Regions from separate parts of the Homo sapiens genome. Here all the other regions are linked to region 1. The links are contacts of gene promoters, found by promoter capture Hi-C in blood cells and fetal thymus (Javierre and others, 2016). All regions are on one chromosome and are shown on one strand. The core of a region is centred on a gene start or on the middle of the fragment in contact, and the rest is flanking DNA. Distances in the headings are between cores, read along the strand shown.

Region 1 (2,888 bases), core at 235-2,734:
AATTCCTCCGTGCTGCTGCCACCAGCGCCTGCCTCGGCGGCGGCATTCCTAACTGAAATAGGCATTCGGCCATTTTCTCAAAATACCAAACACAAAGCAGCTCTTTGCAAACTCGGGCGCTCTCGCTTCCTCTCGCCTCGGCCCGCTCACTGCACACATTTACACACCAACTCGCGGGAGTCGCCCCGACACTCGTCCTGAGCCTTTTCCTGCGCTCTCCAACACTAAAACGGGGGAGGGGATCAAGCTCGAGGCGCTGTTTGGCCGGAACCAGTCCTCCCCGAGTCCAGGCAGCCCCCTCCCCAGCCCTAGGGCCCCCGTCCCGGGAGAGGACGGAAAGTTACCGCGCAGCCGGCGTCCGGGCTTCTCCGACCGCCCCCGGGCCCCTCCGACCGCCCCGGGGCTCGCCCAACGCCCAGGGCCGGGGAGGCTCCGCGGGCGCCCTCGCGAGGCGTCGGGCTCCGAGCGCCGGAGGGGGCCCCCACACGGGCCAGCCGCCACCCCCGCGCCCCGGAAGTTTGCGAACTTCACTCCCCCACGGCGCCCGGCAGGACGCGCGCCCCAGCCCCGCCAGCTCCAGCGGTCGGGTGGCCGGACGCGGGGGCCAGCGGCGCCGGACGGCTGAAGCGCAGAAATCGCTGTCCAGCCCCGCAGGCGGAACCGCCCGGGCCCCGGGGCTGACTCAACCCGCCCGGCCGCACTCAACGGCGCCTTCCGGCGACAGGGAGAGGCCCTGGGGGAGGGGGCCAGGAGGGCCGCGGGCCGGCGCGGGGCTGCGGTGGGACCCGGGGGCAGGAGGAGGAAGCAGAGGAAGTTTCAGGACTACGGGCCCGAGCAGCTCCGCTCCTTGGCCTCAAAGGACCTGACTCGGTGGAGCGTCCGGGCCAGCGCGGAGGCGGCGTCCCAGCCTCCAGTGGGGAGGGGGTCCAGGCGACGCGCTGCTCCCAACAAACGCCCCCAGCCCCCGGGCGGCTGCTGTGTAACCCGATCCTGCTCGGCCGCCAGCCCCCGCCCGGCGGGGCCGCCGCCGCCGGAGCCACAGTATCTGCAAATCAGCCCTGGACAGCGCCTGACTCCGCGTCCTTCCGCGCCCTCCCCGTCCCGCCACTGCCGCCGCCCGGGCGGCCCTCCCCCACCCTGACCGAGCCCCCAGCCCAGCGCCCCACTTACCGGCCTTCCTCGGTGAGGAGGGGCGGGCGACCCTGAGTCGCCGCTCCTTCTCCGACTACTTTTCTTTGTTGCTGGAGTTTCGGGGGAGAGGTGGGGGAGGGTGGTAAAGTTGGGTGCTGGGGCCGTCGTGGACCAAGAAGGCCCAGGAGTGGGGCTGCAGAGGGTGCTCAGGCCTCCGGGCCTCGCCCTGCCGTCTCGGCTGCGGCAGCCGCCGCCAGGGTCTGGGGCCCCGGGCCTCGGCGGCGCTCGCTCCGCTGCTGCGCCGCGAGCTCGCGGCAGCCGCACATTCCAACACAGGACGCTGCGCCGCGCACCCAGTCCGCGCCGCCGCCGCCGCCACCGCCCGCGGGACACGCCCCCTCCGACGCCCGCGCGCGCCCGCGAGACACGCCCCCTCCGACGCCCGCGCGCGTGGCCGCTAGGCGCGCCCCGCCCCTCTACCAAGCAAGGAGTGCCCCAGTCTCCAGCTCGCCTGGGGGCGCGTCTAGGGGGAGCCGCCCGTAATCCTCCCGGCCCCTCACTCCTGCCCTTAGGTCAGAAAAGAGGCGGGCCCCACTCCCTTTCTCGATTTCTATTACAAACAAACAACAAAAGTTCCCCCCAGCCCTGGCGTGCATGCATGAGAATAGAGCTGTTAAAAGAAGAATCCGCAGGCTTTGACGGGTCTCTTTAGAGCTATTGTCACCGGCCTCTCAAGTCTAAAGCGCTCCAAGATACCCTTCAGATCTCTTCAAGTCTCCACCCATAGCTGTCCTTGACTAATTAAGCTTCGTTTTAAGCGTCTGCGGTAAAAAAAAAAAAAAAAAAAAAAAGTCTTCCAAATTTCAAACTACCGGAGGGGGAATGCAGTCAGTTTGGGAGAAGTGAGAAGAAAACGTTTCAGGAAGGAGGTTATGGACTCAGAAAGCGTGAGCGTGAGGACTGAGGGGACAGATCCCTAGACGTGGCAGGTAGCAGGTCATTGCTGAGCCCGGAAAGCACGACTGCAGGGGAGGAATTACCCTCAGATGACAGAAGAAAAGGTGGTGAGGACGGGGAGGCTGCCTGGGGCCACGGTGTGTCGGAGTAACCGGGCTCACGTCTATGAAGCGGGATAACCAAGCGGAATGCCTAGCCCATAGTCATGTGCTAACAAAAACAAAAACAACAAAAAAGAACAGAGAGAGAGTAATTCCACCCCCTTTCACACCTGAAAGAGCTTCTCAGTCTGCCTTTGATACCTTCCTAAACGTCAGTCGTAAGTCACACCTGTCCTCAGAAGCATAGTGGCTCCCCATGACTACAAGCTTAAAGCTTAAACCCCTTAGTGTGGCGTTCAAGCCCCTACTTAACTTGACCTAGATAAGTCTGACTATTGCTTGGTATTACAACATAAGTAGCAAGTGCTATGGGGGTTTGCCAGTAGGAAGATGGATCCCAAGAGGTTCTAGAAACTTTTCACAGTAGATGTATTCAGTCTGACCTTGGAGAATGAGGAAAACTTCAACAGGTGGAAAGTAGGGCAAGGAACACTCTACACAGTGAAAAGGGCAAGCTCAAAATCCCAAAGCAGTTGTTAAGACATCCCAGCTTCTCCTCAGGGTACCTCACTTCCTTCTCTTTGAAGTTCCTTTATTTGTTTCTCTTAGGGCAGGGCTTCCAGACTCTTCATTTCCTGGTATACCCACGTAGGACCTCTGTTTCCCTCTATCTGGACAATATATTACTAATTAATGCAG
Region 2 (3,085 bases), core at 16-2,515, 1.0 Mb after region 1:
TTAGTGTTGCATTTTTTTAAAAACAGTGAGTTACAGAATAATTACCCATTAATGACAGTCTTCTCTGTCCTACAGAAAAGAATGGAAACATGTACTATCAGTTTTGAATCATGTTTCTTGATTACTGAAGTTGCTTAGGGCATAGGCTCCTTTCAACAGGCAAATGCTAAACTCATTATTCTAAAGGGGAGCTATGCAGACACACTGAGGAGTACACAATGTGGCCATTTAAGGCCAGGTTTTGACTTGAATAGGCACAAAACTCCATCCAAAAGGAACTCCAGAGATGGATACATGCAAGAGCAGAATGTGGCCTCGGCAAATCACCTTCCTCATAACTTGATACTGTCACTGGCTATTCTTTCAAATAATGTTTTTGTCCATTTAAAATACTTATAAACAACAAAAATTAACATGCATCAAAGCATCTCTTTAGAAAAATAAGGTAAAATAACATGAGAATGTTTGGTGACAGTTTTATAGCCCTTTGGCAGGGGAGAAAATATTTAAACTTTCTTTTTGATTCAAAATAGCCAGTGAGAAGTAAGAAGCCAGGAACCAGTTTCATTTCTATGTGGAGAGCAATGACTTAAGAGATTAGTGACTTGCCCCCAACTGTTATAAAAAGTCTTTTAGGGAATCAGTTAAACTGAACTCCCAACATCTGTCTCTCAGTCTAGTACTTTCTCTACTTGACTGCACTTCATTTTCTCACCAACTGCTGTTCTTATGAATATATATATTTGATTACAGCATGAATACACAATCGCTGTCACAGTCACATACTGCAGAATTTTAATTAAAGAAAATTTACAGATATACATATTTGTTCTATGAAACGGCTATAAATCAAGCCAACGTTTTAGACCTCTTTTTTCATAAATTCTGCTGGATCTACCTCCACCTTGCTTAAGAAGTCTTAGAATTATTTGTTATAAATAAAGCCATTTTTAATAGGAAGATAATGAACTGACATGCCTAAGCTTACCAAACTTCTTGCTTTCTTTAGTTGTGCCAGTCATCTTGATCTTTGCAACTTCAAAGAAATCTTTGATTTCTCTTTCATATAGTCGGGATAAATAATCCATGTAATTCTTAAAATAAAAGTAACATGTACTTCTTATTAATAAAACACATATAACAATTTCAATTTTTCAATTCCCCAAGTCCTTCATGCTTGTTTTAAATTTCATAGTCCAAAACTTTGATGTATTTCACAGGATATAAAAATAGGTTACTTTCTGTCTTAAAAAACAATTGAATAGGCATCATAACATTAACAATTTACAAAAATATGAAGTCAAACATAACCATATTTATATTTTCATTTTTCTATATTACCTTTTGCATATTTTAAATATCACTGTAATCACACTATACAGAATATCTAAATCAGAACAAATACATTTCTCCAGTCTCACATTTTAATGACAGCACAGTATTCAGTTTTGTTGGTGTAGCACCATTAAGTAAACCAATCCCCTAACACAGGACAATGAAGTGGTTTCCATGTTTTGCTATGATAGACAATGTTACAATAAGCTTTTCATCTCTAATGAACTATTTCTTTGAAATAATTTCTTAAGGATGGAATAACAGGGTCAAAGTGTATGGGAATCTTAATTGCTCTTCCTCTATATTGTCATGTTGCTTTAAAAACAGACCAATAATAAATAGTGTCAATGGCACTTAAGAATATTTAGTTTCACTGAGCCTCTGCCAGCTTGGGATATTACTCCAAAATAGGTTATTTTCCATAAGAACTTCATTAGTATATCTTACAGTTTTCAAAATCAAGTAATTAATTTTCTTAAAACAGATTTGATTAATTCTCGCTTAAATAAAAACATTTTTGTATCCTTTGGCATACAAAAATCATTTCTTCATCATCTCTACTTATTATCACATAAAAATATACTCTCCAGAAGAGTTCCTCAACAGTGGGAGACTGTATATTTTTCCAAGTATGAAGTTAAATGCCACAAACAGAATTTGACTAAATTTAAATAAACCAGAAAATAAAATTTAAATAAAGCAGAAAAGTTGTACCTATTCTTTTAAGTTTATCATAAAATCTAAGCTTCAATTTCCTATATTATTTCAAATTAATGTGTCAATTTTTAGAACATGTTTACCTGCTTTAAAGATCAGGTATACCTTCCAAAAGGTACATGTTGTGTAAATATTTGTATATTGATTCACAGTTTACCATTGATTGTCTTAAAATATTTTATAGCTGTATTCTTATAAAATAGCATTTGGACCAAACATAATATATATAGATCCTGTCCTTTTTCAATTTGTATGCCATATACATTTTTCACATATCTCTGTATCTAATGTAAGAACAGTTAGTCAAATGGGCAATTATTTCCCATGATCTTTGTATAACTTTAAAAGCAAATATAAATTAAAATTCCTATTTCATTGGGATGTATTACTTTTTCAGTGGGACTCAAATGACTTAGATACCTTTTTTCCTGGCACTCAACAGAACTGACTGATAGGAAAGACCACAGGAAGGTTTTACTGTATCAGTGTCTCTCCAAAACTCTATGATGCCAGCCTGGGCAACATGGTGAAACCCTGTATCTACAGAAAATGCAAAATTAGCCGGGAGCGGTGGCACATGCCTGTAGTCCCAGCTACTCAGGAGGCTGAGGCAGAAGGACTGCTTGAGCCCAGGAAGTTGAGGCTGCAGTGAGCTGTGATCACATCACTGCATTCCAGCCTGGGTGTCAGAGTGAGACCCTGCCTAAAAAAACAAAAACGAAAACAAAAACAAAACAAAACACAATACAACAACAACAACAACAAAAACCCTATGGTAAGTTTTAAATTTTAAGATGGTACTTTAGAATGCTAGTTCACCATCTTCTCTACTGGCTCTCTGATTTTTTTTTCCTTCCACTCACCTCAGCTTCTCTGGCTGATTAAATCTGCCTTTCCTCACAGCAACCCTTGCCTCTAGTGTTTGGCTTTCGAGTAGCAAGCAGTGGAACCTGGGTCCGCTGTAGGGTCTCCATGGTTTACTTTTTCTTTATACAATGTGAAAGGAAAATAAATCTTGGGGCCCCAAAATCAC
Region 3 (2,907 bases), core at 395-2,894, 1.0 Mb after region 1:
GTGCTTATAGATAAAGATGGCAATAACACACTATAAAGGCTTAAGTGCTGAGGTAGTATAATATGAACATCATTAGCCTTCTCAATCCACTATACATCACTTATTCATAGAATTCAGGAAAGTCTTACCCCATCTAGCACCTGCAGCTCTCTGGACAATTTTTCTGCAAAGGCTTCCGCATTCGAGATTGCATATTCACAGCCTTCCATCATTATTTCGATATCCTGTTCTTCTCTTGCATTTAACTCTTGGTATTCATCTACTACTTCTTCATCACCTCCTGTCACACTCTGATTTTCTCCACTTGGAACAGATTCTTAAAGAGGTAAAAATTCAAAGTAAAATAGTCAAAAAAGTAGAAAAGACTATAACATAATACATATAGGTAGGTATAGTTATAAGCACAGGTCACATTTAGCAGCTGAAAAAGAGGATAGAATGATTCAAATGATATGAAAAAATCAAACTTTATTTTTATAAATAATTTAATATGTTAATGAAATAAAGTTCTAAAAAATAAATAAAAAGCATGCAGTCTAATGCACTAACTTACAAATGTTAAAACAGGCTTTCACCACAGTTTCCCAAAATACAATTAAGCTAAAATGTAAAAACAAAATACAAAAACAGGTGGGAACAAACCTAAACATTTTTTCGTACCTGATGTGGCTGTTGCTCTAACAAAACAATGACTATGAATTCAGTACACACAAAAACAATTTGCTTTCCTTTTTTTCCCAGGTGAAATTTTTCTTTTGTTACTTTTGTTACTTTCATCTTCAGTATGTATATTTTTGCCAAATACTTTTTAATTAAAATGAAAAATGCATCTATAATCCATAATTTATTTTGGTCACTAGAATATTAACTGAATTATCCATTTCTTTGCTTAAAAAAATTTCACATGCATTGATAACATTTCTAAAGATAAGTTACAGCTTTCTCAATAACTCTAAGTAAGAGCAACAACAACATGGCTGTTTGAAATTATAAAAAGTTAAACAGGCTTCATGCTTTATAACAAAAGACCAAGAGGTCAAACCTGAAATGCTTTCTAGATGTTTCAGTTCATTTTTTTTTTTTTTTTGAGGAAATACACTAGCATGTGAGCACTGTATATAAAGCTTGAGGTTAGGAGGTAAAATGAAAGAAATCATTTTTAACTCCTAAGATGTTGTTTTATCACTCTAAATAAAGTTAGCAATTTCACAGACTTAATGGGGCATGATTTAAACCACAAACTCTGGATGCTTTTAGTATTCATTATTTTATAGGAAAATGAATATTTACATTCAGCATGACCTGAAATACGTTCATTTGTCCCAGAACAAAAAGAAGACTAAAACTTTTGGTACAGGCAATTACAGATTTTAGTATATAAGTTCTTTAGAGAGATATTACCGATCTCCTTGTCCTTTCAACGAGTCCATTTAATTCACTGCGAAAAAGTTCAACTGTCATGTGTGACAGCTTATTAGCCACTAGGGGGCAGGGACTGCCCAAATCATTCTGTACAGGTCCTTACACAAGTAGACTTAAACAAATATTTTACATGATTATAATTAACTGCTTCAGAAGTATTTTCTAATGATATGTCCTTGAAAGCCAATAATAAATACTATCATTAATTTTATTACTATGTAGATTTTTAAAATAAATTTGTCCCAGTACATCATTTCATAAAACATACAACCAACGGTATATAACAAAGGCAACTAATAAAAACATATGGAATAGAAGAAGAAAAGGTGTTACGCACCTTCTGTAACTTTAGGCAGTTCTGGAGAGTAAAAAGTATGAAAAAAGCAGAGGAAAGTAAGCAAAGAATATTAGCTGGGTAGAAAAGTAAACAGGCTTAAATTTTTAAAATACTACCCATATCTCATTTGAACTTCATGTTAAAGTTCAAAAGACAGCCAAATCAACTACCAAGTGGAAAGATCCATAAGAAGCTAAATTTGCCGTGTTCATTTTTCTTATTCACTTTCTGATAGTGACTACAAATATATTTATCTTTCTAATTTCTCTTAGTCTTTTAAGAAACAGCACTAACTAACCCTTAGAGGAGAAACCTGGCAAACTAATCATTTCCTGGGGATTATATTTAGGTCAGTTGTGACTCATGCATGTAGCCTAGTTATGTTACTTAAGGCCCAAAAGCTTTACCCAGACACTCCCTCACAGAGGATTAGTCACAAAACATGGTTAGAAAGGACAAGATTGAGGCAAGTAAAAAATTACACAAAATAACAGTTCAAGCCAGCATTTAAGGATTCAAGTCAAAGATTCTTTTTTAAAAAGCTGGTTGCAAGTAAAAGAATGAAAAAAAAGGCCAAATAAAAACTTCAATCTACTTCAACTGCTGAAAAGTCCTCTTTTACAAACCTTATTCTGCTGAGGAGCCCCATTATTTAACTTACGTATTCAATTGTCAACAATAAAAACTACCAAGTTGCCACTGCTACCATTTATAATCAAAATAGTCTTACTTAATTATTGAGCTCTTAAACTGGGGTGGTAATAATTTTTTATTTGTTTTCTAACATCACTCAAAACTTAGAGACATTTTTTTTTAATGGGAATTAAAGGCTGTAATTTCAAGGTCCATAAAACAAGTTTGTAGACATTAATGAAGCTATTCCCTGAACTCCACTAAACCAAAGCAAGAGTTACTGACGTATATAGCAAGTGATTTTCAAAATGAGATCCTTAAGGATCTTCTCAGTATTCTTAAAATCGATCTCAGTTAGGGTTAATGTTTATACACATGAACGTGTCTATACTCTTGTTTTATGGCCTGAAAAATTGAATGCCTTTTTTTTTTTAAGTTAGACACTTCATTTTCAAAAACAGTAATACTCTTCTCACTGATTTTGGTAGTATTTCTTAATGAGGCAGATCCAGGTA
Region 4 (2,844 bases), core at 52-2,551, 1.0 Mb after region 1:
TATATTATAGTATTAAGTCTCATGATGACCTGGTGAGGGTGGGTATTATGATCATCTTCCCTATTTGACAGCTGAGGGAATGTATTCTTCCAAGATTTTTTCTTGTAAATCCTAAATCTCATAAATCCTAAATTCCTGCCAACTTAAGACCAATCGCTATTCCCTAAGCAGTGTTATGCTTTTTACTTTTCATCGTTTAGCTCATATTATTTCTTTCTAGAATGCTACTCCCTCCATCCCCACTTTGCCTGTTCAAGTACATCTGACTTTCAGAGGTTAAAACAAACAATGCAATATCCCTCAGGAAGTCTTCCATGATGTTGAAATCAGAATTACTCTCACTCATATCTGGGCCTTTCAATATGGTTTATAAAGAATAATGGCCTAATTTGGACTTTAAATCTGGCTCCACTACCCATTAGTTAAGAGAGCTTGGTCCTATTACTCCACCTCTCTAAGCTGATTTTCTTTCTTTCTCTTTCTTTCTTTTTCTTTCTTTCTTTCTTTTTTTTTTTTTTTTTAATTGAGACACGGCCTCACTCTGTTGCGTAGGCTGGAGTGCAGTGGTAGGATCATAGTTCACTGGAGCCTCAATCTCCTGGGCTCAAGTGATCCTCCTGCCTCAGCTTCCCGAGTAGCTGGGACTACAGGCACGTGCCACCATGCCCAGCTAATTTTTTTAATTTTTAGTAGAGACAAGGTCTTGCTATGTTGCCCAATACAGTGGCTACTGTACAAGAGATGTATCGTTTCCACTTATCAAATAAGGAAACTAAGGCTCAGAGAGGTTAAGTAACTTCCCAAAGTCACACAGCTTAATCTGGAGCCAGATTATGAACCCATCTCTAATTCCAACCACTCAACCAACCAACCAACCAACCAACCAACCAACCAAAGAAAAACAAACTTAATGCCTCACCATAATATAGCAGAAATACGAAATAAGCAGAAATAGCCATATATGCTTATATAAACAGTATTCCTTTCTTCCTCACAATTCATTAATCTGGTCTGTACTCTAATGGAACTCTCCTCCTGCTCTAGATCTGTAGCATTTCTAGAAAATTATTTAAAGAAAAGCAATATATGTAAGGATCTTTAAGTCAGATGGTCAAAAGAAGTAAGCATACCTGAAGTAAGTTCTCTTCTTCACATAAATGTTTATCAACTTTCTTGTAGAGGTTATCTAGACCTTTTTTTACTTCCTTTCCAGGGTACTCCTTAATGACTTTACGAAGTTCTTGTTTGTTAAATGCAAGTTGGTAACTTACTTCCTCCTCCCTTATGCCCTGTGCCACGCGAGCTTCAACACCTTCAAAGAAATGCTTCAAGGAAATGAAAAGAAACAATGGCTAAGACCTGCATTTATTATTATTTACATTAAAAAAATCTGATTACAAAGTAGTGTATAATCACCATGCAAAAATCAGTGTGTGAAAGTATAAACAATAAAATAACAATCACTTATTAACATACTTCTGAGATGAACATTGTTAATATTGTAGAGTTCCTTGTAATCTTTTGATGTGTGAATACATACAGGAGATTAAAATTTCATGTCCCACTTTACATTTAATATTGTTTTTTCCTAAATATAAATTTTAATGGCTGCATAATATTTCACACAATGACTGAACCACAATTATTATTCATTCCTCTAGTACTAGATATTTAACATCCCACTCCCCCTTCTTTTTTTGGACTTGGCAAATCTAGTGAGACTTTAGAAAATCTACTATAAATATATTTGTCATAAATTTTTTTTGTATATAAGTATTTACCCATCTTACTGATTAAATTTCCAGGACTATAATTACTCTGTTGAAGAGCATAACTTTAAGTATTTGAAAGATTCTTCAGTATATATACAAACTGCTTCCTAGGAAAGCTCAACCAATTTATATTTCTGTCAACAGTGTATGAGGTTGCTACTTCACTATACCATCATAAGCATTATGACAATTTATAACAATAGTTGCCAGAGTAAAAAAAGTTTGTCATTTTATTTTATAATTCTTTGGCTATAAATAAGGTTAACCTGCTTTTATATGTTTAGTAGTGATTCAGCCCCTTGCCCCATTTATAAATTGGGGTCTTAGTGCTTTTCTTATTGATTTTAGTAAGATTTTTTATATTAAATATACTGACTCTGTTATATTATTGTAACTATTATTCCCAGGTCTTCTTTTATATATATACTTTTATTGACTGGCATAACTGTATTTGAGCACGATACAAAGAATTAATGCTGACAAACCCCATTCCCTCTCATTACTTTTTTCTAAAATTTTCTTAGTGATTATTCATTAAATTATCATTCTTTGAGAAGTTATTCTTAGTGCTTTAAAAATTTTGTTTTTACATAAGCTCTTAATTGGTAGACAGGAAATACATTGTTTTTCAGTATATTTGCTTTAAATTTTGTCACTTGACCAACACCAGTAATTTCAACATATCATATACAGGTGGTGATAATCTCGTCTCTGTTTTCCATATCTCTTATTTATGTTTCAGGTCTTGTTGAACTGGCTAGTGCTTCAACAACAATGCTAAATAATAAAGGATCTAACAATATTTCTGCTTTAAATTGATTTCAGAGGGAATGTCTCTAACGTTGCAGTTAAGTATCATGTAAGCTTTAGGCCTGAGATAGATCTTTTATCCAGTTAAAGGAATATTTGTCTGTTCTTAAGTTTTATAAGGAATTAGTTCTGCATTTGATTAAATGTCTTTCAAGTATTTCTTTGAATTGTTGACAGCAGATACATATTCTTTTTTTTTGTTTTGTTTTGAGACTGAGTCTTGCTCTGTCGCCCAGGCTGGAGCGCAGTGGTGTGATCTCCA

The links. The method cuts DNA at HindIII sites, captures the fragments that hold promoters and counts their contacts. A CHiCAGO score of 5 or more calls a contact.
Region 2: a contact is called between a fragment that was not itself captured here and the fragment with the promoter of REST in region 1, in 4 of 17 cell types (non-activated CD4 T cells, total B cells, total CD4 T cells and 1 more). The highest score is 6.2, in non-activated CD4 T cells.
Region 3: a fragment that was not itself captured here is called in contact with the fragment with the promoter of REST in region 1 in 10 of 17 cell types (total B cells, total CD8 T cells, non-activated CD4 T cells and 7 more); the score reaches 12.6 in total B cells.
Region 4: a fragment that was not itself captured here is called in contact with the fragment with the promoter of REST in region 1 in 4 of 17 cell types (naive CD4 T cells, naive CD8 T cells, total CD4 T cells and 1 more); the score reaches 7.0 in naive CD4 T cells.

Annotation. Positions count from the first base shown.
Region 1 is chr4:56,906,496-56,909,383 of GRCh38, reverse strand. REST (RE1 silencing transcription factor) reads right to left here and starts at 1,484. Exons shown (of 4, transcript NM_005612.5): 1 at 1,171-1,484. RefSeq lists enhancers at 1-167, 1,098-2,027 and silencers at 258-1,107, 1,218-1,607, 1,707-2,001. The HindIII fragment of the contact is 2,443 bases long and covers 1-1,939 here.
Region 2 is chr4:55,881,832-55,884,916 of GRCh38, reverse strand. EXOC1 (exocyst complex component 1) reads right to left here. Exons shown (of 19, transcript NM_001024924.2): 10 at 989-1,094. Among named protein-coding and RNA genes, the nearest start is that of EXOC1, 30 kb to the right of the region's middle. The HindIII fragment of the contact is 559 bases long and covers 986-1,544 here.
Region 3 is chr4:55,865,745-55,868,651 of GRCh38, reverse strand. It overlaps EXOC1 (exocyst complex component 1), which reads right to left. Exons shown (of 19, transcript NM_001024924.2): 5 at 129-316. Among named protein-coding and RNA genes, the nearest start is that of EXOC1, 14 kb to the right of the region's middle. The HindIII fragment of the contact is 1,036 bases long and covers 1,127-2,162 here.
Region 4 is chr4:55,900,825-55,903,668 of GRCh38, reverse strand. EXOC1 (exocyst complex component 1) reads right to left here. Exons shown (of 19, transcript NM_001024924.2): 18 at 1,131-1,325. EXOC1-AS1 (EXOC1 antisense RNA 1) reads left to right here. Exons shown (of 5, transcript XR_941069.4): 4 at 2,515-2,619. Among named protein-coding and RNA genes, the nearest start is that of EXOC1-AS1, 46 kb to the left of the region's middle. The HindIII fragment of the contact is 2,674 bases long and covers 1-2,638 here.